Regions from separate parts of the Homo sapiens genome. Here regions 1, 3, 4, 5, 6 and 7 are each linked to region 2. The links are contacts of gene promoters, found by promoter capture Hi-C in blood cells and fetal thymus (Javierre and others, 2016). All regions are on one chromosome and are shown on one strand. The core of a region is centred on a gene start or on the middle of the fragment in contact, and the rest is flanking DNA. Distances in the headings are between cores, read along the strand shown. Region 1 overlaps EMC3 (ER membrane protein complex subunit 3). Region 2 holds the start of BRPF1 (bromodomain and PHD finger containing 1). Region 3 has its middle 62 kb from the start of LHFPL4. Region 4 has its middle 2.4 kb from the start of CIDEC. Region 5 holds the start of PRRT3 (proline rich transmembrane protein 3). Region 6 overlaps LHFPL4 (LHFPL tetraspan subfamily member 4). Region 7 overlaps IL17RE (interleukin 17 receptor E).

What was found. Contacts are between HindIII fragments. The CHiCAGO score rates a contact against its expected background, and 5 or more counts as called.
Region 1: a fragment that was not itself captured here is called in contact with the fragment with the promoter of BRPF1 in region 2 in 5 of 17 cell types (neutrophils, monocytes, M0 macrophages and 2 more); the score reaches 13.9 in neutrophils.
Region 3: a fragment that was not itself captured here is called in contact with the fragment with the promoter of BRPF1 in region 2 in 1 of 17 cell types (megakaryocytes); the score reaches 7.0 in megakaryocytes.
Region 4: a contact is called between a fragment that was not itself captured here and the fragment with the promoter of BRPF1 in region 2, in 1 of 17 cell types (neutrophils). The highest score is 8.6, in neutrophils.
Region 5: a fragment that was not itself captured here is called in contact with the fragment with the promoter of BRPF1 in region 2 in 3 of 17 cell types (monocytes, naive CD4 T cells and M0 macrophages); the score reaches 7.2 in monocytes.
Region 6: a fragment that was not itself captured here is called in contact with the fragment with the promoter of BRPF1 in region 2 in 1 of 17 cell types (megakaryocytes); the score reaches 5.0 in megakaryocytes.
Region 7: a contact is called between a fragment that was not itself captured here and the fragment with the promoter of BRPF1 in region 2, in 4 of 17 cell types (neutrophils, monocytes, naive B cells and 1 more). The highest score is 8.0, in neutrophils.

The regions. Positions count from the first base shown.
Region 1 is chr3:9,973,412-9,977,735 of GRCh38, reverse strand. It overlaps EMC3 (ER membrane protein complex subunit 3), which reads left to right. Exons shown (of 8, transcript NM_001394674.1): 2 at 290-347; 3 at 686-779; 4 at 3,248-3,352; 5 at 4,027-4,108. Among named protein-coding and RNA genes, the nearest start is that of EMC3, 11 kb to the left of the region's middle. RefSeq lists an enhancer at 108-1,307. The HindIII fragment of the contact is 7,414 bases long and covers 1-4,324 here.
Region 2 is chr3:9,730,452-9,734,425 of GRCh38, reverse strand. It overlaps BRPF1 (bromodomain and PHD finger containing 1), which reads right to left and starts at 2,691. Exons shown (of 14, transcript NM_001003694.2): 1 at 2,288-2,691; 2 at 1-295. The coding sequence starts at 285. RefSeq lists enhancers at 1,576-2,135, 2,696-3,255 and silencers at 2,213-2,342, 2,353-2,402, 2,873-3,232. The HindIII fragment of the contact is 5,381 bases long and covers 1-3,862 here.
Region 3 is chr3:9,489,583-9,493,835 of GRCh38, reverse strand. No RefSeq gene overlaps it. Among named protein-coding and RNA genes, the nearest start is that of LHFPL4, 62 kb to the left of the region's middle. The HindIII fragment of the contact is 8,839 bases long and covers 1-4,253 here.
Region 4 is chr3:9,880,688-9,884,554 of GRCh38, reverse strand. No RefSeq gene overlaps it. Among named protein-coding and RNA genes, the nearest start is that of CIDEC, 2.4 kb to the right of the region's middle. The HindIII fragment of the contact is 3,540 bases long and covers 605-3,867 here.
Region 5 is chr3:9,949,433-9,953,367 of GRCh38, reverse strand. PRRT3 (proline rich transmembrane protein 3) reads left to right here and starts at 960. Exons shown (of 4, transcript NM_207351.5): 1 at 960-1,046; 2 at 3,196-3,935. The coding sequence starts at 3,253. The region is part of intron 3 of PRRT3-AS1 (PRRT3 antisense RNA 1); the gene reads right to left. RefSeq lists a silencer at 922-1,461. The HindIII fragment of the contact is 545 bases long and covers 1,475-2,019 here.
Region 6 is chr3:9,524,784-9,529,008 of GRCh38, reverse strand. The region is part of intron 2 of LHFPL4 (LHFPL tetraspan subfamily member 4); the gene reads left to right. Among named protein-coding and RNA genes, the nearest start is that of LHFPL4, 27 kb to the left of the region's middle. The HindIII fragment of the contact is 1,280 bases long and covers 2,168-3,447 here.
Region 7 is chr3:9,903,077-9,905,813 of GRCh38, reverse strand. It overlaps IL17RE (interleukin 17 receptor E), which reads right to left. Exons shown (of 16, transcript NM_153480.2): 2 at 2,402-2,417; 3 at 1,663-1,782. Among named protein-coding and RNA genes, the nearest start is that of IL17RE, 1.6 kb to the right of the region's middle. RefSeq lists an enhancer at 2,093-2,737. The HindIII fragment of the contact is 3,209 bases long and covers 1-2,737 here.

The DNA.
Region 1 (4,324 bases), core at 1,140-3,639, 240 kb before region 2:
TTATCAAATAAGAAAAAGCTGAGTGTAATGTCCCAAATGTACCTAACTCTGAAATATTTATGTGTTCAGAAACACAGTCACTTTTGAAAAATACTTTTCTGAAAACCTAGTAGTTAGGTTAAATAAGTTTACGTTGGTTTTAAAGATACTTGTATTTTGGGAAGTTTCCACACAGAGCTGTTGCCAAATAGGCCCTCTCTTGTGTTTAAATAGGTCTTCTACTTGACTCTCCCATTTTCTTCTAGTGTTTCACTTTTTAAAATCTCATTGTGTTGGTTGTATTTTTCAGTCAAGTCCTAATTCGAAGCAGAGTCCTCAGGGAAAATGGAAAATACATTCCCAAACAGGTACTCATTTATCTTTTATTAAAAAGCTCCACGATTCACTGTTGGGCAGTAGATATCTGAATGTTTTATAAGGGGGCTCTGGGGAAAGCTAAAGGTTGGCAACTTAGTAATTAAGCTGTGGCCTGGTGGTGTTTGCTCTCATGGTGACCTCACCCTTCTTAGGAAATTGTTTTTAAATGTGACTCAGCTAAAGTGTCAGGTCGCCTGCCAAGTAGGCTGACAGCTCTGAGCGGAACAGCATATCCTAAAGGCCTTCTGACTAAGCCACTGGGGAGTAATTTAACAGTTTGCTGTGTCATAGTTCTTAGACTTAAAACACTTTTTTTTTTTTTTACTAGTCTTTCTTGACACGAAAATATTATTTCAACAACCCAGAGGATGGATTTTTCAAAAAAACTAAACGGAAGGTAGTGCCACCTTCTCCTATGACTGGTATGTTTGTTCCCTTCACTCATCTTTAAGGAAGATTTTTAACATGGGTATTTGAGTGGGGTGGGGTAGGCAGGGAGGGTGTCATTTTATTTAAATGTTAAATTGCAAAAGATAGTAATCTTAGACCTTAGAAATCATCTGATACAGGGATCTATGGAAGTGGAATTCTCTTTTTCAGTTAGATTTTCTGAGAACCCCAATGTATAAAGTGGATTAAAAAAAATAGTTCTCAGCTGATGGAGTGGGGAGGCCAGAGCTATTGTCCCTGGGTCTCTCCTTATTGCTGTTCTCAGGACCCAGGATTCTAGGGAGCACAGTTGGTAAAGCATTCCAGCCTGGCTGTCACCCAGTGCCTGGATCCCCTTCCAATAGATGGCTGCCCAGCTTCTGCCTAAATGAGGAAGAGTGCAGTACTTCCAAGATGTGCCATTTTGTTGACTTTGTTGTTAGACGTGATTGTTTGGTCTACCCTACAGTTTTGGCTCTAACATTTTCTACTTCCACTGATACCAGTCATGTGAAAAATATAGCATGTTAAAAGTAAAACAGGCCAGGTGTGGTGGCTCACGCCTATAATCCTTGCATTTTGGGAGGCTGAGTCAGGTGGATTGATTGCCTGAGGTCAGGAGTTCAAACCAGCCTGGTTTACATGATGAAACCCCGTCTCTACTAAAAATACAAAAATTAGCCTAGCGTGGTGGTGGGTGCCTGTAGTCCCAGCTACCCCGGAGGCTGAGGCAGGAAATTGCTTGAACCTGGGAGGTGGAGGTTGCAGTGAGCTGAGGTCACGTCACTGCACTCCAGCCTGGGCGACAGAGCAAGACTCCATCTCCGAAAAATAAAAATAAAAATAACTAAAAGTAAAACAAAGTAATTTGTTGTTCTGTGTTGACTCCTCTCATTTTAGTACTATTCACTTCTTTAGGTGAGATAACCAGCTATTTTAAACCCATACGGAAGGTATTATAATTAATTTTTTTTGAGAGTGACTAAGGTTGTATGGAGTTAATTTTTTAACAAATTTTTAAGAAAATTTACAAGAAACAAAAGACCATTAAATATATGAAAAGTTACTTGACCTCACTAATAATCCATGGAATATCAATTAAAACAAGATATCTTTTTTTTTTTTTTTTTTTTTCTTCAGAAAGGAGTCTCGCTCTCTCACCCAGGCTGGAGTGCAGTGGTGCGATCTCGGCTCACTGCAGGCTCCGCCTCCCGGGTTCACGCGATTCTCCTGCCTCAGCCTCCAGAGTAGCTGAGATTACAGGCACCTGCCACCATGCCCGGCTAATTTTTTGTATTTTTAATAGAGACGGGGTTTCATTGTGTTAGCCAGGATGGTCTCCATCTCCTGACCTCGTGATCCGCCCGCCTTGGCCTCCCAAAGTGCTGGGATTACAGGTGTGAGCCACCGTGCCTGGCCAAGATATCTCTTTTTTTTTTTTTTAGCCCAGTAAGCTGTCAAAAGATTGAAAAGATTGTCAGGATCCACTATTGTCAAGGTCGAGGAAGTTAGGCTCCCTCACCATTGGCGGGAGTGGCAAGAGGTGGGGCCTTGCTGACAGTCTGACAATATCTATCAATTTTAAATGTACAAATCCTTGGACCTAGAAATTCTAAGAAATTCTCTTACGGAAACACATAAACATGCAGATGTATGTGCAAGATAATTGTCGGCAGCATCATTTATCGTTTATTGGCAAAAACAATGGAAACAATCGATAGGTCTACTCAAAAGTGATTGGTGTGACCACACCATGGAATCCTATGCAGACATTAAAAATATTGAGACTGGGTACGGTGGCTGACGCCTGTAATCCCAGCACTTTGGGAGACCGAGGCAGGCAGATCACTTGAGGTCAGTCACGAGTTCAAGACCAGCCTGGCCGACATGGTGAAACCCCGTCTCTACTGAAAATACAAAAATTAGCTGGGCATTGTAGTGTGTGCCTGTAATCCCAGCTACTTAGGAGGCTGAGGCAAGAGAATCACTTGAACCTGGGAGGCGGAGGTTGCAGTGAGCTGAGATCATGCCACTGCACTCCAGCCTGGGCGATAGAGTGAGACTCCATCTCAAAAAAAAAAAAAAAAAAAAACGCTGGGTGCGGTGGCTCCCGCCTGTAATCCCAGCACTTTGGGAGGCCGAAGCAGGCGGATCACGAGTTCAGGAGATCAAGACCATCCTGGCTGACACGGTGAAACCCCGTCTCTACTAAAAATACAAAAAATTAGCCAGGCGTGGTGGCAGGCACCTGTAGTCCCATCTACTCGGGAGGCTGAGGCAGGAGAATGGTGTGAACCTGGGAGGCGGAGCTTGCAGTGAGCTGAGATCGCACCACTGCACTCCAGCCTGGGCGACAGAGCGGGACTCCGTCTCAAAAAAAAACAGTTTACAGAAAATCAGGAGAAAGTCCCTGGCAACAGAGGTAAAACTTAGTGGTTTCTTGTTTGTGCTTTTGTCTTAGATCCTACTATGTTGACAGACATGATGAAAGGGAATGTAACAAATGTCCTCCCTATGATTCTTATTGGTGGATGGATCAACATGACATTCTCAGGCTTTGTCACAAGTAAGTTACAGACCCAGCCGACTTCATGTTACCCAGAGAAATTCAAGTGCTAGTGAGACACTAATATCACAGGTCCTGTGTTTTCTTTTGTAAACTGATAATAGTCCTTGAACAAAAAATTTAATATGTGATGACTTTTACGGCTTTTGCCCAAAAATGATCCTAAGTTCATGACGTGGATGCTTTTTAGCCAGATTAGATTCAAGCAAGTGACTTGCTAGCTTACTTCCAAAACTAATACGGTATTCTCGTTGAGCAGGATAAAGGGAAGCGTATTTCTATTTTGACTTCATTTGCTAGATGTTAGGGTGAGTTTTCTGTTTGTTTGTAAGTTGATTCGCTTTTAATCAATTTGGTTTCTTATTAACATAATTCTATGCTTATATATTCCACTTAGAGTTTGACAGTTTGCTGCAAGTTTTTTCCAAATTTCAGGTCACAGCTCAGTTTGAGTCCCTGCTTCCTCAGTAAGCTAGAGGCAGATATTATTCAGGGAAACTAGAGCAGAGTGGCATTTTGACTGTCTTTTCTTCAGAAATTGCCACAGATTTCCTTGTGGAAGTCGTTTTCCAAAAGCTATGTGGCACAGAGTTCCCACCTCCTCTGAGAAAGAGTCACACTTATTCTAAAAATAAAACAGCTCAGAGTGATTGTGAACTTTTTCTTCTCTGCAGCCAAGGTCCCATTTCCACTGACCCTCCGTTTTAAGCCTATGTTACAGCAAGGAATCGAGCTACTCACATTAGATGCATCCTGGTAAGAACTTTCTTTTGTTTAATAAAAACACAAACCACACTTTGGGAAGCCAAGGCGGGAGGATCACTTGAGCCCATGAGTTTGAGACCAGCCTGGGCAACAGAGTAAGACCCTGTCTCAAGAAAACGAAAACAGGCCGGGCGCAGTGGCTCACGACTGTAATCCCAGCACTTTGGGAGGCCGAGGTGGGCAGATGATGAGATCAGGAGATCGAGA
Region 2 (3,974 bases), core at 1,442-3,941:
GGCCTGTGCATAGCTCATCACCTCACGGCCTGGTGACTGTGAGACCTCTGAGGGGCTGGGTGACTGCTTGTTGGCTGGGCGTGACTGGCGCCCCTTTTTCTTGTGCTTGCGGAGTGGAGTTTGTTGTGGGGGTGGTGGGTTGTCGTGGTCATAGTGGTACAGGTGGTACTCAATACCACTGTAACTCTTGTAGACCTTTCGGCAGGTCTCCACCGGGCACTCGTATGGTGGCTTAGTCGCCCGCAAGTTGTGGCAGAAAGTCTTCACATCAAAGTCCACCCCCATGCTGTCACATCTAGAATACACAGATCAGTTAACATAAGGCTGGGGATGAGTTCCTGGCCATTTGCACCAGAGACCCCAGTCTTTCTAGCCCTCCCCCTCACTTGGAGTCACCAGATTCTGGCCAGCCTACCTCTACAGTGTCTCCAAATGCCATCTCCTCCACCATAGCCCATATCTGGGCCCTCATCACCTCTTGCCTGGTTATCCTGCCCTATGTCTCAACTTCTTTAGCCCAATCTCACATCATGTAGGAGAATGATCTTTCTACCAGGTAGTAATGATCATGACACTCTCTTCATTAAAAGCCTCCTGATGCTCCCAGTTCCTTCAAGATAATATTCCAAATTCTCTATGATGCCATTCAAAGAGCTCCTTTCACTGACTGGCCCTAGTCCTCCTTTCTTTTTACAAGTTACAGCTGTTTTTGTCTACACAGGGGATCTTGCCATTCCCTGAATGTTATAACCTCTCATTCCTGCAAAATGATCCCTATTTGGAATGCCCTCCATACTTTCTGATTGGTGGGCTCCTACTCATTCTTCAAAAAACCAGCTCAAATGTCACTTCTGACACAACTTCTCTGACTCTCCCATGGGGAGCTGTTTCCACAGCATTCCATTCTCACCTCTACCACAGCACTTGACATACTGAAAGTTGTCTCCCCCCTGGACTGGGAGCTGTGTAGCAAGGGTACCAGAGCCTATCCACCTCTGTATCCCCAGTACCTAGCATGCACTGGACATTCAGTTTTTGGCGAACGAATGAATGACCTGTTGAACGAATAGCTGAATGAGGGGATCACCAGACTGAGAGCTCAGATGGGATGAAGGCCATGTAGAAAGCTGAATGGGTGGGTGGCTAATGCTTTAGCGTTGGACTCCTGCAGAAATCACTGGATCACAGAAAGAATTCATTTACTTTTGAGGTCTTTATGGGGAGCCTGGCCCTGGTACTGGGTAGGAGATGTACTGTGAAACAAAGTGAAAACTGAGGTCATTTAGTCAGTGACAGCAGCTTGTATTACATTTGAGCTGTTCACCCACTCACACATCAACTGAGTGACTACCAAGTGCCAGGCCCTAAGGGTACAAACACGAACGCGACAATCTAGGCATGCTCAGCTCCATGCTGGTCCGCAGGGGCCCTCCCTCCCCGCTCCCCAACATTCCTGGGTGAGTGTAGACAGCAGATGGCACCAGGCCTCAGGAAGCCCAGCTTGGTCAGAGACTGCCCCAATTTCTCTCGGCCTAGTTGAGTTCAACCATTCAGCTAGGGGCTTGGCACCATCCCAGCCAGGCAGGGCTATCATGAGCTCCCTGACAAAATAACCCCTCTTGGCCTCTCCACCTGTGCCTTAACCAGGCAAGTGGGCTGCTCCAGCTCCACTGTCAACGGCTCCTGATTTTCACATCAGTAACGCTACACGTCCAACTGCAACTCTTCTATTTCCTACCTGCGGCTGTGTCTTTAAACATAAACCAACCGAAGCACAAACAAGCTCTCCTCTTTCCAAGCTGGGTCCCGGGTGAATGGTTCCCAAAGTAGCACAGCGAATCAGCAATCTCCCCTTGGAACCCGGCAGCAGAGGCACAGGCGAGGGAGACGAGAACTTAGACCAGAAAGCCCGTGGGGAGGGCCCAAGGAGAATGGCGGCTGCATCTGCCCCTGAAGCTCAGGGGGCTGGAGGAAGTAAGGGGCGGGGGCCGGAGGGATAGGGCTGGGCCCCGGCAGTGCCCGCAGCCCACTCTCCGGATGCGGCGGCGTTTCCCCTTTGTGGAAGTGTAACAAGTGAAACAAGGCTCCCCGCCTGCCACTAGCCCGGGCAGCCCCGAAAGATACACTGTTGCCCCAGGATGCCTGCTGGGAAGCAATGCACTGTCAGTTCTCCCAACTGGAGTTGCCAGAGAGGTTCCCGGGCCACGCGGCTCAGTGCGCGTCCCACGAACGTAGCCTACCCCTTCCCTGCCGGCCACTCCCGCCCTGGTCCCAGGCCCGCACTCACCGGCCACCTCGAGTCCGGGCTCATCGCCGGGGGCGCCCGCCGGGGCTCCGACCCCACTTGGGGAGGTCGGCGGGGAAAGTCGGGCCGGGAAGGGGGAGCCCCAACTCCGGAGACCGTAGACCTCGCCACCCCGGCCCCCTGCCGCCCCACGCTTTGGTCCCGGCTCCCCGGGATTCCTGAGCTGACCCCTGCCGCTCCTGGTCCCGCCGGCGCCCTGGGGTCTCAACTCCGTCGGCCGCCGCCCGTTTCGCGAGCCCCCAAGATGCCCGGTCTCGGGACCGGGCGCTGCTGGAACAATGGAGGCTCCCAGAGGCAGCGCGAGGACAGCGGCGGCGGAGACCGTGGCGGCAAAGGCTGTGGCAGCGGCGGCGGCAGCAGCGGCGGCGACGGCGTCTGCGCAGGGTAAACGTGGCGCCGCGGCGCTACTGAGCTGCACTTTCGCCACGGATCCCCGCCCGCCCGCTGAGGCTCGAAAGACCGTGCTCCGGGATTCAGAAAGGACCCTGGACACCCCACAGGGCTTCTCTAGCTCTCCCATCTTAGAGTGGAGTTTCTGGAGACTGAAGTCACCGTACTCGGGATCTGGGGTCGTCGGGCGGTTTGTGGCGAATCTGCAACCACGGACGGTGAGCGCGGGGCTGGGCGTGAGGAGCCCGCCCTTCTCCCCTCCCCCTCTGCCTCCTCCCTATCCGCTCCCTGCCTCCTGCTGGCGCCGCGGCTGCGGGAGGGACCTGGCCTTGGTCTCGGAGGAAGGCGGTGAGGCGGGGCCAGAGTCACGGGGCGGGGCTGGGGGCAGGGCCGGGAGCAAGAGGGATGCGGGCTGGAGCCTAAGGGACCGGTAGTTATGGGTAGGACCGGGGCGGGGCTGGAGACTAGACCGGTCTGTGGGGCGGGGCTTGTGGGAGGGGGCGGGGCTACCGCACAGCGGGGGCCTGTTAGAATAGCGGGGTAAAAAGTGGGGCTAAACAGAAGAAGAGTACTCGCGAGAGAAAGGGCGGAGCTTTGGATGAGCCTGGAAAGTGGAGCTGGACTAGAAATAAAGAACAAAGTTGGAAAAAGCGATGCGACGCTGAAGGGAGCAGGCGGGGCTTGGTAAGGCAGGGGCGGAGCTGTGGGGAAAGGGCAGGACCGATTAGGGATAACGGGGCGTGACTGAAGGAAAGGGAAGAAACTTGGGAAAAGTAAAGGAGAGGTGCTAGAGAAAAGGTATGGGTCTGAGAGAAGGGGCTGGTTTGGGGCCGGTGGGTGTGAAAGGGCTTGTCTGGTAAAGCGGTGGGAAATCTGTGGGTTGGCAGGGATGTGCTGCGGGTTGCTGATTGGAACATGGTGCCAAAACAGCTGATTTAATGTGAGTGGGTCACCTCCTAGCAATGTGAACGTGGGCAAGTTCAGTTCTTTAAGTTCCTTATTTGTAAAACAGAGCTCGAAAACTCTGTTGTTAGTTCTTGAGGGTTTCAGAGAACTTGCATGGCAGGGGGAGACATCCTTAAACAATACTTCTCCAGTTTTGTCATCAAAGAGGAGCGTGAAAGGTCTTCCAGGGTTCTGGGACAAAGCCCAAAGCATCTGAAAGCTTCTATCTTCTTAATGCAAACTTTGCATTTGACCCAATAAAATGTATGTTTTCTAAAAACCATCCCAATAAAATCGACATGCCAGGAAGAGGTTTGCTGATTAAGATCTTGGG
Region 3 (4,253 bases), core at 1,319-3,818, 240 kb after region 2:
AGAAGACAGGAGGGTACACACAGAGAAGGTAGATTGTAGAAAACAGATGCAAGGTGAGTTGAGTGTCCTGAGTGTTTGAGATCCACCATGAGATCTAGGCTGGGTGTTGAACATGGGGAGCTCTGGATGGAGTCAGTAAGTGGAGAATATATTAGGATCAAGGGACTGAAGTTTCTGTGAAAGAGCTGGGAGGACAGGTGATTGTGGGTAGAGAGCTGAGTGTTTGATTTGAATATTCCAAGTAGATCTTGAAGAAGACTTCGAGATGACAGGAACCCTGGTTAGGATGTCCATCCAAATGGTGGGGAAAATGTCAGAAATTAGGGTGGAGGGGCAGACTAGTCAAAGTTATCTAAGAATCAGAGAGGGGTTGGAAGATTAAAAGATAATAGCAATGAAGAGATATAGGCTGGGCACGGTGGCTCACGCCTGTAATCCCAGCACTTTGGGAGGCTGAGGTGGGCAGATCACTTGGGGTCAGAAGTTTGAGGCCAGCCTGGCCAACATGGGGCAACCACATCTCTACTAAAAATATAAAAATCAGCTGGGCATGGTGGCATACGCCTGTAATCCCAGCTACTCAGGAGGCTGAGGCAGGAGAATTGCTGGAACCCAGGAGGCAGAAGTTGCAGTGACATTGCGCCATTGTACTCCAGGCTGGGGGTCAGAGCGAGACTCCATCTCAAAAAAAAAAAAAAAAAAAAAAAAAGGATAAAATCACTGATGGTGGGAGCATTGGTAGAGGAGGAGTTTTTAATCTGAGGGACAAGATGTATGTGTCTGGACAAACGTAGGGAGAACCTCTGTGCAACAAGGTATAAAAGATCCAGCAGCCTCCACTTCAATGGGCTACAAGGTAGGCAATGTCCTAAGGAAAGGCCACAATTCAGCAAGGGCCAAGAGATTAGATGGAGGGAAGTAGTGTTTTCTGCCAAGGAAAAGCGAAGATGTCCTGAATACACAGCAGAGAGCTTGGGAGAGAAAGACGGACAGGGAGAAGAGAACTGCTTTGTAGGAGTAGAGTGTCAGGAGGCCAGAGGACACAGAACACGCTCTTGTTGAAAGGGATGGGGGACAGAGGGTGAGGTTGGTGGAGTTTACCAGACGCACTTCCAAACAGAGCCCTAGTTTGAAACTCCCTTCCAGTCCACTTAGGCAGAGCTTAAGTGTGTGGGGTGCCCACACAGATCCATCCAGCGGCACTGGAAAGCTCCGTGAGGTGCCAAAACGGGTGTGGGAATGGGTTGGAGGCTTCTTCAAACTCATGTACTCACCCCACAAAACATTTATTGAATAACTTACCCTGGTCAGGTACTGCTAGGCTCTAGGCATATAGAAATAAATCAGACATGAGCTCAACAAATTACCTCCGGCCTCTTAGTAGCAGAGCTGTTCGCCAGTTTATAGTGGCCAGGTCAGATTCTGTTTGTTTTCTTAAACATAACACACAGAGAATAAAACAAATGTACAGCTTAATTATAACATACCCTTCTAACTGCTACCAAGGAGATGGGACTCTGCCAGCTACTCCAGAGCCCTTCATGTTTCCTATAAACTCCATCTCTTCCCTCCCTCCTAAGAATAACCGTTATCTTTTTACTGTAATCATTCCCCAACTTTTATTTTTTCACCCAAGTGAGCATCTTTAAACAATACAGCTTAACCTTAATTTTTTAGTTTTTTTTTTTTTGAGATGGAGCCTTGCTCTTTCTCCTAGGATGGAGTGCAGTGGCAGGATCTCAGCTCACTGCAACCTCCACCTCCCAGGTTCCAGTGATTCTCCCGCCTCAGCCTCCTAAGTAGCTGGGATTACAGGGATGCACTACCACACCCAGCTATTTTTTTTCTTTTAGTAGAGTCAGGTTTTTACCACGTTAGCCAGGCAGGTCTCTAACTCCTGACCTCAAGTGATCCACCCCCATCAGCCTCCCAAAGTGTTGGATTACAGACGTGAGCCACCGTGCCTGGCCAGATTTTTTTTTTTTTAGAGGTGAGGTCTTGCTATGTTGCCCAGGCAGGCTGGCCTCAGCCTCCCAAGAAGCTGGCACTACAGGTGCATGCCACTGTGCTGGGTTGCCACTTCTTTTTTCTTCATGTCTTTCCCCACTTAATCTCTTTTTCTCCTTTGCAATTTACTGCTGAAGAAACCAGACCATTTGTTACGTAGTGTTCTGCCACTGGAATTTTGCTGGCTTCATTCTTGTGGGATAGTTCAGTAAGTTCTTCTGTTCTCCTCTGTATTTTCAGCAAATTGATAATTGGATCTAGATACTTAACCAGATTCAGGAGTGTATGTTCTCACATTTTAATAACTTTTTTTTTTTTGGTCAAGAGACACTTAACATCGAGTTGTTTTTGTTTTTGTGTTGCTAGTTGCTGTTAATCTTCAATGCTTACATCTTTAATTCATTAGGAGCTGCAAAATAGTGATGTTCCAATTCTATCACTCTTTATTTACTTGTGGAAATACTTCTATAAAGAGAAACTTACCATCATTTGCTATGTAGTTACTCAGTGGTACAACTCAAACAGGAAAGGCAAGATAAATGCTGCGGCCTTTCAAAATATATAAATATATATATTTTTCAAAAATACAAAGTTAGTTCCTTAACATCCTTCAGAATGAACAATTTTATTTTGGTACCACTATGAACTCATGGATTTAAATATGTTCGATTTGATTATGTTGTAATGTATTATCATAATTAATGCTCAAATGTTCCATCTTTGGTCAGGAGAATTCTCTTTAAGTTGCAACACAATTCTCTTTAAAGCTAACCCTAATTATCTTTGATAGTATCCTTGATGACTGGTATGACAAGATGATCCAGGCTAATCTTAGACATTTCTTCTCCTAAACCTGGAATCAGCCATTTCTCTAAGAAGCCCTGTTTCTATGCCTTTCCAGTTGACAGGGCAAAGATACATACACGATAGATGATACATAGATAGACACATGGGATCTCTCTGTACCTATGGTAAAATGCCTCATGAGTTAATATTAATACTTAGGGTTTTGGCTAAACTTCTTTAACAGCTATACCTCCTTTCCCCCAACACTGGGAAATATTGGTTCTGAAGGACGCTGTATTTATTTATCACACGTTAAAGCACTCAGATAGACTACTGCCAGTATGATTATTTAACACATTCTCTCCTGCTTATTTATCTAAAGTTGTACTCTATCTATATTGTGCAGGTCACGTAAACCATTTTGTAGTATATACTCTCCTTATATCTCTCATTCAGTCTATTCTGCATGTAAGTATATATAAGTAATACTATCAGGCTTTTTGTTGTTTGAAGCTCAGTTTTTTTTTTTTTTTTTTTTTTTTTGTTGAGATGGAGTCTCGCTCTGTCGCCCAGGCTGGAGTGTAGTGGCCTGATCTCACCTCACGGCAACCTCCGTCTCCCAGGTTCAAGAAATTCTCTGCCTCAGCCTCCCGAGTAGCTGGAATTACAGGCACCTGCCTCCATGCTCAGTAATTTTTGTATGTTTGGTAGAGATAGGGTTTCACCATCTTGGCCAGGCTGGTCTTGAACTCCTGACCTCGTGATCCACCCACCTCGGCCTCCCAAAGTGCTGGGATTACAGGCGTGAGCCACCGTGCCCGGCCTTGAAGCTCAGTTTCCAATAGATCCCTAAGGAAGAATTCATGAAAATAAAATTCCCAAAGTTTTTGCATGATAATGATGACAATTTGTGGCTACTACCCTGGAAAGTAAGTTCAGTTCGTACAAAATTCTTGGCTTGTCTCTTTCCTTATCTTAAATTATCCCATTAGCTTTTGCCTTTTTTTTTGTTTTGAGACGCAATCTCACTCTGTCGCCCAGGCTGGAGTGCAGTAGCGTGATCTTGGCTCACTGCAAACTCCGCCCTACAAGTTCAAGCGATTCTCCTGCCTCAGCCTCCCGAGTAGCTGGAATTACAGGCGCCCGCCTCCACATTCACTTATTTTTGTATTTTTAGTAGAGACGGGGTTTCACCATCTTGGCCAGGCTGGTCTTCAACTCCTGACCTCGTGATCCACCCGCCTCATCCTCCCAAAGTGCTGGGATTACAGGTGTGAGCCACTGCACCTGGCCTCTTTTGCCATTTAAGTGTTGCTGTCAAAAAGTCTGATACAGCCTAATTTTCTTTGCCTTATAAGTAACAAATACACACACACACACACCCACACATGTCATGAACTGCATGCTTCCCTCCATGATGGACTGCATAGTGGTCCCATAAGATTATAATGCGGTATTTT
Region 4 (3,867 bases), core at 1,125-3,624, 150 kb before region 2:
TGGCTCTTGGTCTGTCCTTAAGTTTAAGTTATATGTGTTCCTGTCTCCTCACTCTCTCTTCATGCTCCCTTCTCAAATCCTTTGCAATGATGTTTCCTTTGTCTTGATCATCCCCCAGGATTTAGTCAGGATTTACCTCAAAGCTCACCTCCTTGGAGGCGTTTCTTGAACGCATAGGCCAATCTAACTCTCCAGCTGTTATTATATCACCTCGTTTTGTTTTCTTCCCAGAACATCATTATCTGAAATTATTTTGTTTATTTGCATATTTATTCATGGTCTGAGTTCCCACCTTCCTCAGGAATGTCAGCTCCTTGAAGTGTGGGACAAGGCTGTCTTGTTTCCTGTTGTATTCTTAGCCCCAGAAGGACTGGCATATAGTAAGTGCTTAATAAATATTTCCTGAATGAATGAATGAATGGTTGCCTGAGAGCCCCTCCAGGGAAGGATTTAGATCTAAATAATAATAATTTCCATTTATTGAGCTCTAAGGATGCACTAGACTCTGTAGCAAGTACATTTCACGATTATCTCTTTTAATCTGCATGGAAACCAGATGCAGTAGAGCTATTTTTATCCCCAGTTGTTGGATCAAACTGAAGCTTAGAAAATTTAGCTCACACAGCTAGCGCTAGACCACTGGTTCTCAAAGTGGGCTCCCTGAGCAGCCATGGCTTCTGAATCATCTGGGAACCTTTAGTAACGCAAATTCCTAGGCACCACCCCAGACTTACTAAGTGAGAAATTCTGGGGTGGGGCCTAGCAATCTGAATTTTAACAAACCCGCCAGCTGATTCTGATGTACCAAAGTGTGAAAAACCCTGTGTTAAAAGAAAGATGAGGTTAAATGTTTTTTTAAAAAACACAGCTTTATTGAGATAGAATTCACATCACCCACTCAAGTGTACAAGTCAATGATTTTTAGTATATTTACAGGGTTGTGCAAACATCACTGAAATAATTTGTAATTAATAGGTAAAAAAAAAAAAAAAAAAAAAGGAAACCTGGCCGGGCGTGGTAGTTCATGCCTGTAATCCCAGCACTTTGGGAGGCAGAGGCGGGCAGATCACTTGAGGTCAGGAGTTCGAGACCAGCCTGGCCAACGTGGTGAAACCCCCGTCTCTACTAAAAAATACAAAAAATAGCCGGGTGTGGTGGCAGGCGCCTGTAATCCCAGCTACTTGGGAGGCTGAGGCAGGAGAATCACTTGAACCCGGGAGGCAGAGGTCACTAAAAATACAAAAATTAGCTAGGTGTGGTGGCACACGCCTGTGGGAGGTAGAGGTTGCTGTAAGCTGAGATCGCGCCATTGCACTCCAGCCTGGGTGGTGACATAGCGAGACTCTGTCTCAAAAAAAAAAAAAAAAAAAAAAAAAAAAAAAAAAAGAAGAAGGCCGGGCGCGGTGGCTCACGCCTGTAATCCCAGCACTTTGGGAGGCTGAGGCAGGCAGATCACGAGGTCAGGAGATCAAGACCATCCTGGCTAACACGGTGAAACCCCGTCTCTACTAAAAATACAAAAAAATTAGCCAGGCGTGGTGGCAGGCACCTGTAGTCCCAGCTACTGGGGAGGCTGAGGCAGGAAAATGGCGTGAACCCGGGAGGCGGAGCTTGCAGTGAGGCGAGATCGTGCCACTGCACTCCAGCCTGAGTGACAGAGCAATGCTCTGTCTCAAAAAAAAAAAAAAGAAAGAAAAGAAAAAGAAAAGGCTGGGTGCGGTGGCTCCTGCCTGTAATCCTAGAACTTTGGGATGCCCAGCCGGGTGGGTCATGAGGTCAGGAGATCGAGACCATCCTGGCTAACACGGTGAAACCCCGTCTCTACTAAAAATACAAAAAATTAGCCGGGCGTGGTGGCGGGCGCCTGTAGTCCCAGCTGCTCTAGAGGCTGAGGCAGGAGAATGGCGGGAACCTGGGGGGCGGAGCTTGCAGTGAGCGGAGATGGTGCCACTGCACTCCAGCCTGGGCGACAGAGCGAGACTCCGTTTCAAAAAGAAAAGAAAAAAAAAAAAAAGAAAAGAAAACCCTGAAAGAAACCCTGTACTAATTAGCAGCCACTCCCCATTCCCCTCCCATCCCCTACTCCCAGCCCGAAGCAACCACTAACCCATTTTGTCTTTTTTTTTTTTTTTTTTTTTTTGGAGGCGGAGTCTCGCTCTGTCGCCCAAGGCTGGAGTGTAGTGGTGCGATCTCGGCTCACTGCAAGCTCCGCCTCCCGGGTTCACGCCATTCTCCTGCCTCAGCCTCCCGAGTAGCTGGGACTACAGGCGCCCGCCACCACGCCCGGCTAATTTTTTGTATTTTTAGTAGAGACCGGGTTTCACCGTGTTAGCCAGGATGGTCTCGATCTTCTGACCTCGTGATCCGCCCACCTCAGCCTCCCAAAGTGCTGAGATTACAGGCGTGAGCCACCGCGCCCGGCCCTACTTTGTCTTTATATAGATTTGCCTATTCTAGACATTTCATATAAGTGGAATCATACAATATGTATATGATTCCTGTGACTGGCTTTGTCTACTTTCTGTACTGTTTGCAAGGTTCCTCCATGTGGTAGTATGGATCCTTTTTGATAAATAATATGCCATGTATGGATAGGCACATTTAAAAAATCGATTTATAAATTGAACATTCATGTGTTTCTACCTTTTGGCTATTACGAATAATCCTATGGATATTCACATACAAGTTTTTGTGTAGACATATTTTTCATTTCTTTTGGATATGTATGTGTATATATATATGTGTGTGTGTATATATATACACATATATATGTAATTTTGTTTGGTTTTGGTTTTGTTTCTTTTCTTTTGTAAAGACAGGGTCTCCCTATGTTACTCAGGCTAAATTTTAATTCCTGGGCTCAAGTGATCCTCCTGCATCAGCCTCCTTCTGAGCAGCTGGGACAACAGGTGTGCTCTGTATGACACACATACACCACACGCACACACACAGAAGTGGAACTGCTGGGTCAGAGATCTTACACTCTTAACCACTCCACATTTCAGCTTGTCTTACTCTCTGCTATGATTTAATATGTACATTATCAAATTGAGAAAAAGACAAAAAAATTAAAAATAATAAAATAAAAATAAAAAATTATCAGTAATACTAATAATCACTTCGATCCATTGAGTGTTTATGTTTGCAAAGCCTTTATTTTTATTTATTTTTATTTTTTTGAGACAGAGTCTCACTCTGTCACCCAGGCTGGAGTGCAGTGGCGTGATCTCGGCTCACTGCAACCTCTGCCTCCCGGGTTCAAATGATTCTCCTGCCTCAGCCTCCTGAGTAGCTGGGATTTCAGGCACCCACCACCACGCACGGCTAATTTTTGTATATTTAGTAGAGATGGGGTTTTCGCCATATTGACCAAGCTGGTCTCGAACTCTTGACCTTGTGATCTGCCCACCTCGGCCTCCCAAAGTTCTGGGATTAGAGGTGTGAGCCACCGTGCCCGGACTTTTTTTTTTTTTTTTTTTTTTTTGAGACAGGGTCTCACTCTGTCACCCAGAATGGAGTGCAGTGGTGTGATCTAAGCTCACCGCAACCTCTGCCTCCCAGGCTCAAGCGATTCTCCTGCCTCAGCCTCCCAGATAGCTGGGATTACAGGCACACACCACCACGCCTGGCTCATTTTTCTATTTTTAGTAGAGACGGGGCTTCACCATGTTGGCCATGCTGGTCTCAAACTCCTGACCTCAAGTGATCCACCTGCCTCGGCCTCCCAAAGTGCTGGGATTACAGGCGTGAGCCACGGCACCCAGGCTACTTTTTTCTTTTTTCTTTTCTTTTCTTTTTTTTTTTTTTTTTCAGAGACAGGGTCTCACTCTATTGCCCAGGCTGTCCTCCAACCCCTGTCCTCAAGCA
Region 5 (3,935 bases), core at 498-2,997, 220 kb before region 2:
GTGTCTACCAGCCCCATATGCAGACCCATAGATTTTACTACCATGCCTCGGCTAGGCAATTATCTGGTAGGTGCACTAGTGTACGTGCACAGTGATGTGTTAAGCAAGGAATGGCCCCTGCTCCATTATCCCTGCGAGCAAAAGGCTAGAAACAACCTATGTCCAATTACAGGGGACAGGATAAAGAACAATAACTAGCTGACCATATGCTGGAATTCTCAACAGTGGATACAAGAAATGATATAGATCTATAGATATTTACATGAAAAATGTGCCAGAATATATTGGAAAGTGAAAAAGACAAATTACAGAAATGTGTACAGTGGCTGGGCACGGTGGCTGACGCCTGTAATCCCAACACTTTGGGGGTCCGAGGCGGGCTGATCACCTGAGGTCAGGAGTTCGAGACCACCCTGGCCAACATGGTGAAACCCTGTCTCCACTAAAAATATAAAAATTAGCCAGGCATGGTTACTAGGGAGGCTGAGGCAGGAGAACCACTTGAACCTGGGAGGCGGAGGTTGCAGTGAGCCGAGATCACGCCACTGCACTCCAGCCTGGGCGACAGAGCAAGACTGTCTCAAAAAAAAAAAAAAAAAGTATACAGTATGATGTCATTTCTATTTAAGATGTACATGTAACTGTACATTGAGAAGAATCTGAAGGATACATACCAAGCTGTAGGTAGGATTTACCTAAAAGGATGTAGGGATATAGAAAGGAAGTGAGCTCCCCGTCCCATGAGGTATGCAAGCAGAGGCTAGCTGCCCCGTTTTCAGGGATGCTGCAGAAGACATTTCCACATCCCTCAGAGATGACCTCGGTTCCACTCTGAGCCCTGACAATCCCTGAGCGAGGGGAAGTCAGGGTTGACAGAAGAGTCCACCCCTAAGGGGAAAGAGTTAAGCAGGGCTGCGCTCCTGTGGGCGGGCTCGCGATCGGCAGCGCCGGGCTCTGTTAGCCGAGTCTGAGCATCTCGGAGGATGCGGCGCGGCGATCGGCTGCAGGGACGCGCGCAAGGTGAACACGGGGGCTGCGGCGCGCAGGTGAGGAGCTGGCCCAGGGAGGGGGCGATGGCGGGACCCCGACGGGGAGCGTGGCCTGCTGCCCCCGTCGCGGGCGCAGGCGACCAGGCCTGCACGGCGCCCACCCCCATCCAGGACACTGCGGGAAGGCGCGGAGCCAGGGAGAGAGGAGACGGAGGAGGAGGAGGAGGAGGAGGAGAGGTAACCCGAGATGGACCAGCTCCGAGGCTGCCCCGCAACGGCCTCGCCCTGCCCCCAGGCCGGCCTCTCCCCAGTCCCTGCGGCAGAGAGATCCGCCACCCCCCACAGCCTCTCCAGCAGAGTGGGAGCCCAGGGCTGGGCAAGCCCCCGCCTTGTCCGCAGGTGCCCACATCTCTTGGGTTGGCAGTGGTAGGCAGATGGCATGTTTATCTTTGGAGGCCCCATTCAGCCGTTTTCTCGGCAAAGCTTTTTGGACCTCCTGTGGAAGATGAGCCTCCGAGGGTTTCACAACCCCGATTGTGTCCACTCAGCTGTGTGACCTTGGGGGAGTTGCTCACCCTCTCTGAACCCCCGTTTCTTCCCCCTGTGAAATGGCTGTTCCCACACCTTGTATTGGGAGGGCGGAGTGACGTGTTGCTAAGCTCAGCGCAGGAGCCTCACTGGGAAAGAACTAAACACAGGAGCACTGTTTTTAGCCAGTACCTGTGTTAGGGGCGTCTCAGCGCACCCCTACTCCCAACCCTGGAGCAAAGCCCTGTCTCTGGGCCCCCAGCACCTAGCCTAGACCAGGAGCAGCCCATGGGGCTCCGTGAATGTTTGAGAAATGAACTAACAAGGCTTTAAGACAGAGTCTAAACTCGAGTTTGGAGGATGGGACTCAAAGGTCTTTGAACCCCTTGAAATTGTTCACAACTTTCGGTGAGCCTGGGTCTTTTCCCCGGGAGAGCACCAGGGGTTTTCAGTGGCTTCTTAAGGTGTCTGTGAGCCACCATGGGTTAACAGCCAGGAAGCTTTGGGGACAGCTGCTCCCCAGAGAGGAAAAGAGCAGGGCCTCTGCCGCCAAACACACCCAGGCTTCAGCTCTCGCACCCTCCATGAAACCTCTCCTGGTGGTGGGGCCCCTTCCTGCCTCCCTGGCCCACTGACAGGCTCTCGAGAACAGGAACTTTTAGGGGATATCCACGTGGGGCCAGGTATATACTGGAGGCTGCAGGTTTGAAATAAGAGGCAGGAGATTATTATAGAATCAGACCAGAGTGACAAGTGCCCAGGAAGATGAGGGAAGGAAGGCGGGAAGAGGAATGTGTAACGCTTGTCAAGCATCAGGTATGAACCTCGCCCATACCTGTTTGGTTATTTGTCTCATGCCTTGAGTTAGGCATGCTTATTATCCCCATTTTACTGATGGGAAAACTATGATGCAGAGAGGTGAAATGACTCCCCCAGGAAATGAAGACACTGGGATTCAAACTCAGGCCCCTCGCCAAAGGCCGGTGCATATTCCTCTCCCTCTCCACGTCTCTCATTTTTGAAGTGGGCCTTTAGGAATAACATTTCAGGCAGGGTGCAGTGGCTCATGCCTGTAATCCCAGCACTTTAGGAGGCCAAGATGGGCAGATTACCTGAGGTCAGGAGTTCAAGACTAGCCTTGCCAACATGGCAAAACCCCATCTCTATTAAAAATATAAAAATTAGCCAGGTGTGGTGGCACATGTCTGTAACCCCAGCTACTCGGGAGGCTGAGGCAGGAGAATCACTTGAACCTGGGAGGTGGAGGTTGCAGTGAGCCGAGATCACGCCACTGCACTCCAGCCTGAGCGACAGAGCAAGACTCCGTCTCAAAAAGAACAGGATTTCAGTAAGTGAAGGGGAAGGGAGAGAGCATTCCCTGCTGACAGAACAGCAGAAGCAAAAGGCATGGGAGCCACACAGTCCAGTGGGTGTTGGAGGACAGATGAACAGCTTGTGGTGGCCAGGGTCTTGGAAGGCCAGGAGAGGAGCTTATGTTCTTTCTTGAGGGAAATGGGGAGCCACTGAAGGTTTTAAAGCAGGGCAAGTGCCACGTCCAGCAATTTTAAAAGCAGAGAAGCTGCTGCCTTGCGTTGCTTTTCTTTCCTGTCAGCCCCTTGAGGAAGGCATGGGGGCCCCCAGCCCTCACATGTCATTCCATGCCCTGTTTTTTTTTTAGGCTCATCCAGTGAGGACTGGAAGGTGGGGGCTTTAGGCCCAGGCATCGGAGTAGACCATGGCCTCCAGCCCATGGGGCTGTGTATGTGGCCTTCTGCTGTTGCTGCTGCCACTCCTGGGGACTGGCCCTGCCCTGGGGAGGGGCTTTCCCAGGCCACTTGAAAACTCCGAAATCCCTATGATCCCTGGAGCCCACCCCAAGGGCTCTGTGGGCTCAGAGCCCCAGGCCTTTGACGTGTTCCCGGAGAACCCCAGAGCTGACAGTCACAGGAACTCTGATGTCCGCCACGCCCCTGCTGAAGAGATGCCTGAGAAGCCTGTAGCCTCTCCCCTTGGCCCAGCCCTGTACGGGCCCAAAGCAGCACAAGGAGCTCAGAGAGAACGACTCCCAGTAACTGATGACCTCCAGATGGCTCAAGGACCAAGCTCCCACGGCTGGACAGGACCTCTGGACTCACAAGAGCTTCTGCAGCAAGAAGCAGTGGCTCCCCACCCAGTGGGCCACCCTCATCTCACTTTCATCCCCACAACTCCCAGACGTCAACTCAGGGTAGCCACAGTTCCTCCCTCCCTGCAGCATGAAGGCCAAGAGGGACAGTGGCCACCTAGAGATGAGGGTCTGAAGGCCAAAACTAAGAGCAGGGTCCCACCCACTTCTCCCTCAGACCACCAGGGCCCACCCCACACCCTTGTTTCCCACTCAGGTACTGTCAAGAGGCCAGTGCTGGAAGGACAGGGTGG
Region 6 (4,225 bases), core at 1,558-4,057, 210 kb after region 2:
GAGGTGGAGGTTGCAGTGAGCCAAGATCGTGCTACTGCACTCCAGCCTGGGCCACACAGTGAGATTCCATCTCAAAAAAAAAAAAAAGTTGGGGGGCTGGGTGCAGTGGCTTATGCCTGTAATCCCAGCACTTTGGGAGGTCAAGGTGAGCAGATCACCTGAGGTCAGGAGTTCAAGACGAGCCTGGCTAACACGGTGAAACCCCATCTCTACTAAAAATACAAAAATTAGCCAGTGTGGTGGCACACGCCTGTAATCCCAGCTACTTGGGAGGTAGAGGCAGGAGAATTGCTTGAACCCGGGAGACAGAGGTTGCAGTGAGCTGAGATTGCGCCACTGCATTACAGCCTGGGCGACAGAGCAAGACTCCGTCTCAAAAAATAATAATAATAATAAATGGAACATTGGTGATTCATGAGAGAAGGTCAAAATGTCAACATGAACAGGAGTTTGAAAGAGGTTAATTCCAGCCCTCATGGATGACTTTGAGGAGCTGAATACTTCAGTGGAGGAAGTAACTGAAGGTGTGGCGAAAATAGAAAGAGAACTAGCATTAGAAGTGGAGCCTGAAGATGGGACTGAATTGCTGCAATCTCATGATCAGACTTGAATGGATGAGGAGTTGCTTCTTATGGATGAGCAGACAGTGGTTTCTTGAGATGGAATCTACTCCTGGTGAAGATGCTGTGAGCACTGTTGAAATGCCCACAAAAGATTTAAAATATTACATAAACTTAGTTGATAAAGCAGGAGTAGCATTTAAGAGGATTGATTCCAATGTTGAAAGAAGTTCTGTAGATAAAATGCTATCAAATAGCATCATATGCTACTGAGTAAACTTTTGTGAAAGAAAAGTCAATCGATGTGGCAAACTTCGTTGTTATCTTATTTTCAGAAATTGCTACAGCTACTCAAACCTTCATTGCAACTTGCTGAAGGCTGGCTCAGATGATAATTTAGCAATAAAGTATTTTAAAACTAAGGTATACACATTGGGTTTTTTTTAGACATATGCTATTGCACACTATTAGTATATAGTGTAAACATGACTTTATATGCATTGGGAAACCAAATAATTTGTGTGACTTGCTTTATTGCAATATTTGTTTTATTACGGTGGTCTGGAACCAAACTCGCAATATCCCCAGGGTATGCCTCTGTGTGTGTGTGTGTGTGTGTGTGTGTGTGTGTGTGTGTGTTTGTATTTGAAAAATTAATTTGTACAATTATTGGTTTTCTGGGTTTTTAAAAAAATTATTCCGCCACACTAGTCTACTGTATATGGGTTTTGTTTTTGTTTTTCAGACAACATCTGGCTCTGTTGCCCAGGCTGCAGTGCAGTGGCATGATCTTGGCTCACTGCAACCTCTGCCTTCTGACCTCAAGCAATCCTCCCACCTCAGCCTTCCAAATAGCTGAGACTACAGGCGCTTGTACCATGCCTGACTAATTTTTTGTAGAGATGGGGTTTCACCATGTTGCCCAGGCTGATTTTGACTCCTGGGCTCAAGCAATCGTCCCACCTCAGCACTCCCAAATAAGTGAGACTACAGGCATGCACCACGATGCCCACTAACTTTTTGTATTATTATTATTTTTTTTAGTAGTGTCAGAGTTTTGCCATGTTGCCCAGGCTAGTCTCAAACTCCTGAGCTCAAGTGGTCCACCTGCCTTGGCCTCCCAAAGTGTTGGGATTACAGGCATGAGCCACGATGCCTGGTCAAAATTATGTTTTTAAATTTCACAAGTAATATATGAATATACCCACTCTGTAAAAAGCTGAAATATTACAAAAAGACTAAAGTCCCCACCCAAGCCCCACCCAGAGGCCACCACTCTTATAAACTTCATTTCTATCTTCCCTGATCTTTTTCTGCACATTTACATATATATCCATAAGGAAACTATATCATGTCATCTTCTGTGTACCCCTGCTTACTTCTTTCTCCCTTCCCTTTCCTTTCCTTCCTTCTGTCTCCTTCCCTCCCTCCTTCTCTTCCTTCCTTCCTTTCAGTGAAATACATGTACATGAAATTTACCATTTTAACCTTTTTTTTTCTTTTTTTCTTAAAACAACAAAAATTTATTCTTGTTCTGGAGGCTAAGAAGTCCAATATCAAAGTGTGGGCAGGGCCTCATGCCCCCTGCAGACTCTGGGAGGGAAGCTTCCCTGATCTCATCTCCCTTCTTTTGGCTGTCAGCCTTCCTTTGTGTTCTTGACTTACAGCAGCATCACTCCAATCTCTGGTCTTCACGTGTGTGTGTGTTTCTCTTCTCTTCCTATAAGGACACCAGTGATTGGACTTAGAGCCCACCCTAATGACCTTATTTTGTCTTGTGTCTTAATTATATCTGCAGGTACCCTGTTTCCAAATGAGATCACATTCACAGGTACCAGGGATTAGGACTTGAACATATCTTTTTGAGGGAACGCAATTAAACTCATTACATTCACCATCATTTTAAGAGATGCTTGAAGGAGGGAGATGATATGAGGGATGTTAGACCACAGCCGACTACAATTGTGAGCAAAATAAAGACAGTTATTCAAACTATTGTCAGATTTGTACGGGGACATTCTTTTTTCCCGCATTTTCTTATTGTGGTAAAATACACATGACATAAAATTTATCATTTTTACTGTCTTTTGGTGCACAATTCTCTAGCATCAAGTACATTCACATTATTGCTCAGTCATTACCACCATCCATCTCCAGAACTCTTTTAATCTTGCAAAACTGAAACTTTGTGCCCATTAAACACTAACTCCGCATTCCTCCCTCCCCCGAGCCCTGGCAGCTACCATTTCACCTTCTGTCTCTGTGAATTTGATTACTCTAGGTAGCTCATATAAATGGAATCATACAGTGTTTGTCCTTTCATGACTGGCTTATTTATATACCTAGCAAAGTGTCTTCAGGATTCCTCCATGTTGTATCATGTGTCAGAATTTCTTTCCTTTTTAAGGTTCAATATATTTCATTGTATGTATATACCATCCCCTACTTTTTTTAAAACTAAAGGGATCATGCCTACGTATGGTCTTTCTACCTGCTCAATATGTCAGAAAAAGAGAGGTAGTTAAGAGCATGGACTCAGGCCCCAGGAAGGCTAGGTCAGACTCATCATTTAACCTTTCTGTGCCTGTTTCATAACATATAAAAATGAGGTAACAATGAATTAATACACATAAAACAGTTAAAACAGTGTCTGGCATGTTTCCCATTTTTTCCCATTTTTTCAAACGTATAAGCACGTTGGATTTTTTTTAAAATTATGATTGCTTTTTTTCAGATGACGTTGTGTCAAAGAAATCTTGCTCTTTCAGTCCTTAAAGTGCTACCCATTCTTTCTCATTGTTGCAATGCATTTCATAGTATGCATATCCTTTTTATAAAAAACACAGATGAGTGGACTTCTGGTTTCTGGTCAGGGATGTAAGAAGCTTGGAAGCTGCTACTCCATCCTAACAGCAAGTAAAAAGCCAAACAAACTGAAAAATAAACACTCTTGCTAGATCCATGAGAGACGTAAGGTCACAGGGCAAACTGCTGCCCCCAAAATTGGAGCGACAGACAGGTGAGTGCAGAGAATCACAACTTACAGGAGCAGAAGGAACCCATGAGCAGAAACCTTTATGGGAACCAATGCCCAGGCAAGGGAAAACTGAATTGTAATTGACAAATTGCTGGAGGCTGTGTGGACAAGTGTGAGACATTAAAAACTCCCAGGGGACCCAGTCATTAGGGGGGCTCCCACACTTTTGTAAGTTTTACTTCCTGAAGCTCTACCAAGTTCTTACGGTGAATATTGAAGAAAAATCCCCTCATGGTTCTGGCAAGAGCAGGGAAAAAGGAACAATTCTGATGTATGCCAGGCCTGTCCTTGGGAGAAACTAGGTGACTAGAGCCTAACCTGCTGGGATTATCAGAGAGAGGCTAACTGATCTTGGGGGAAGGAAACTCCATCTGCCTCTAGCCATGCTGTCCCACCTAAGGAGGGCAAGAAAAAAACAGCAACAACTTAGAAGCATTTGTGAAATTAACAGTCCAGGGCAAAGGCTCACTAAAAGACGGAGACCTCTTTGTAGGACTATAGAATGCTTCCCCTCTTCCCACATCTTACCACCACATCACTAAAAGCCTACTTACAGCAGTTTCTTTTACCCAGTACATTATTTCCAGCTATCAAGAAAAAAATTACAAGGGATACTAAAAGGCAAAAA
Region 7 (2,737 bases), core at 238-2,737, 170 kb before region 2:
GAGCCTTGCTCTGTCACGCAGGCTGGAGTGCAGCGGCGCGATCTTGGCTCACTGCAATCTCCGCCTCCTGGCTTCAAGCGATTCTCCTGCCTCAGCCCCCAGAGTAGCTGGGACTACAGACGCCTGCCACCACGCCCAGCTAATTTTTTGTACTTTTAGTAGAGACGGGGTTTCACCATGTTAGCCAGGATGGTCTCGATCTCCTGATCTCAAGATCTGCCCACCTCAGCCTCCCAAAGTGCTGGGATTACAGGCGTGAGCCACCACGCCAGTCCCTGCCTCTCTCTCTTTTCTTTCTTTCCTTCATTCCTTCCTTTGTTCCTTCCTTCCTTCGTTCCTTCCTTCCTTCCTTCCTTTCTTGACAGGATTTTGCTCTGTCATGGAGGCTGGAGTGCAGTGGCACAATCACTGCTCACTGCAGTCTTGAACTCTTGGGCTTAAGCAATCCTCTCACCTCAGCCTCCTGAGTAGCTGGGATTACAGGCATGCACCATCACACCTGGCTAATTTTTGTATTTTTAGTAGAGACGGGGTTTCACCATGTTGGCCAGGCTGGTCTCAAACTCCTGACCTCAGGTGATCTGCCCGCCTCAGCCTCCCAAAGTACTGGGATTACCGGCATAAGCCACTGTGCCCAGCCCTGTAGCATTATTTCTAACAACAAACAATTAGAAAAATTAAACACTGCCTATTCTTTTTTTTTTTTTTTTTTTTTTTTTGAGACAGGGTCTCACACTGTCATCCAGGCTGGAGTGCAGTGGCGCTATCTTAACTCACTGCAACCTCCACCTCCTGAATTCAGGTGATCCTCCCACCTCAGCTTCCCAAGTAGCTGGGACTTCAGGTGTGCACTACCACATCCAGCTAATTTTTGTATTTTTTTGTAGAGATGGGGTTTGGCCATGTTGGCCAGGCTGGTCTCAAACTCCAGGACTCAAGCGATCCACCCACCTTGGCCTCCCAGAGTGCTGGGATTACAGGTGTGAACCATCATACCTGGCCCAGAAACTGCCAATTCTTTTTTTGGAGATGGAGTTTTGCTCTTGTCGCCCAGGCTGGAGTGCAATGGCATGATGTCGGCTCACTGCAACCTCCACCTCCTGGGTTCAAGTGATTTTCCTGCCTCAGCCTCCTGAGCAGCTGGGATTACAGGTGCCTGCCACCAGGCCCTGCTAATTTTTTGTATTTTTAGTGGAGACAGGGGTTTCACAATGTTGTCCAGACTGGTCTCGAATTCCTGACCTCAGGTGATCAGGCTGCTTCAGCCTCCCAAAGTGTTGGGATTACAGGCGTGAGCCACCGCGCCTGGCCTAGAAACTGCCAATTCTTAAGCAATGTAAGGGCATTTAGTATGTACCAGGCACTGAGCTGAGCAATTAAAATATAGAGTAAGAAAGAAGATCCTGCTCTACAAATAGATGGTAATAACAATAAATCCATAGCTTTTAATTCCAAGAATCTCAGCTGAAAAAAAACCTTCATAAAATTGTACAATTGTATTTGTGAATATCAGTCATAGCGTGCTATTTTAGGATAATCCAAGTCCCAGTTGAGGTTAAAACAAGACAAATATCTGTTCTAGTAAGTCCCACTTGCTCAGCCTAGGTGGTCCCTCAAAATGTTCTCTTCACTGAGAATGGCCCAAGGGGCTGTTTCTCATACCTGAGCCACCTGACAGCAGATGCTGGCACAAACAGCGGGAACAGTGCCAGACTCGCACACACCAAGGCTTTGTGGAGAAGAGGGCCCACCAGGTGCGGCAAGGGATATAGGCAGAACTTCCTGGGAAAGATGGAAGGGAAAGCAAATGATAGGGTCTAAGAAGGTCCCTCCTACCTCCAACAAGCTGGATTTGAGGCCAAGCTCTGTCACATCCTGGAAGTATGACTTTGGGGGTTACAGGACCTGTCTAAGGATCAGATTCCTCATTCATAAAGCGGGTCTGTTATAAAAATCAAAATTGTAGTGTATGGGAAAATGTCTTGTGAAGTAGAACATACCATAAAATAGGAAGGATTATTGTTGTATTACTGATAGAAGTGAGGGATCAGTTAAGGGGAGGAGCCAACATATATGGAGAACCTGGAGATTTACTCATGTTTCTCATCTAATCCTCTCTACAGATCAGAAGCAACACTGCCTTTAGTGTACAATCATTTCTACTATGCTACTACCCCTCAGAAACTGAGGGTCAGTTGGAGGGGTTAGGTGCACAGTCTGAGGCCACACGGGAGTCTGGCAGAACTGCAATGTGAACCCAGGCTTGTCATGATTCCAAATTTTTCCTTGATATTGTGCTACTTCCCGGGTTGGGAACTGAAAATTAGAATGGAGGGCTTGCTAGGCATCTGCAAAAATAGTGGGCGTGGGGAGGAGCAATGGGGCAGGAAATGCGACTCACCAGTGAAACTGTCATCCTGAGGCACAGGGCCCAGTAGGGAAAAGAAAGGAAAGAGCTATTATTAGGAGAGACTCCCATAAGGCACATTCCTGGGGTCTTTGCTTCAAATCAGCAAATTCTGAGCCCCATAGCTAATAGCCCATACCTTCTGGCTCTTATCTTCCCAGCTCCACCCTGTCCAGGCCCTCAGCACAAAGGACCTTGGCTACCCCTTTGAGACTAGGTAGAGGACACATCAAAGCTGCCACCAGAGCACAGGGACTGCGGAGGTAGCACAGGGCAGGCAGGGGAGTGGGGAGCTTTATGGCTGTGCCAGGCAGGTGTCCCTACCTGGCA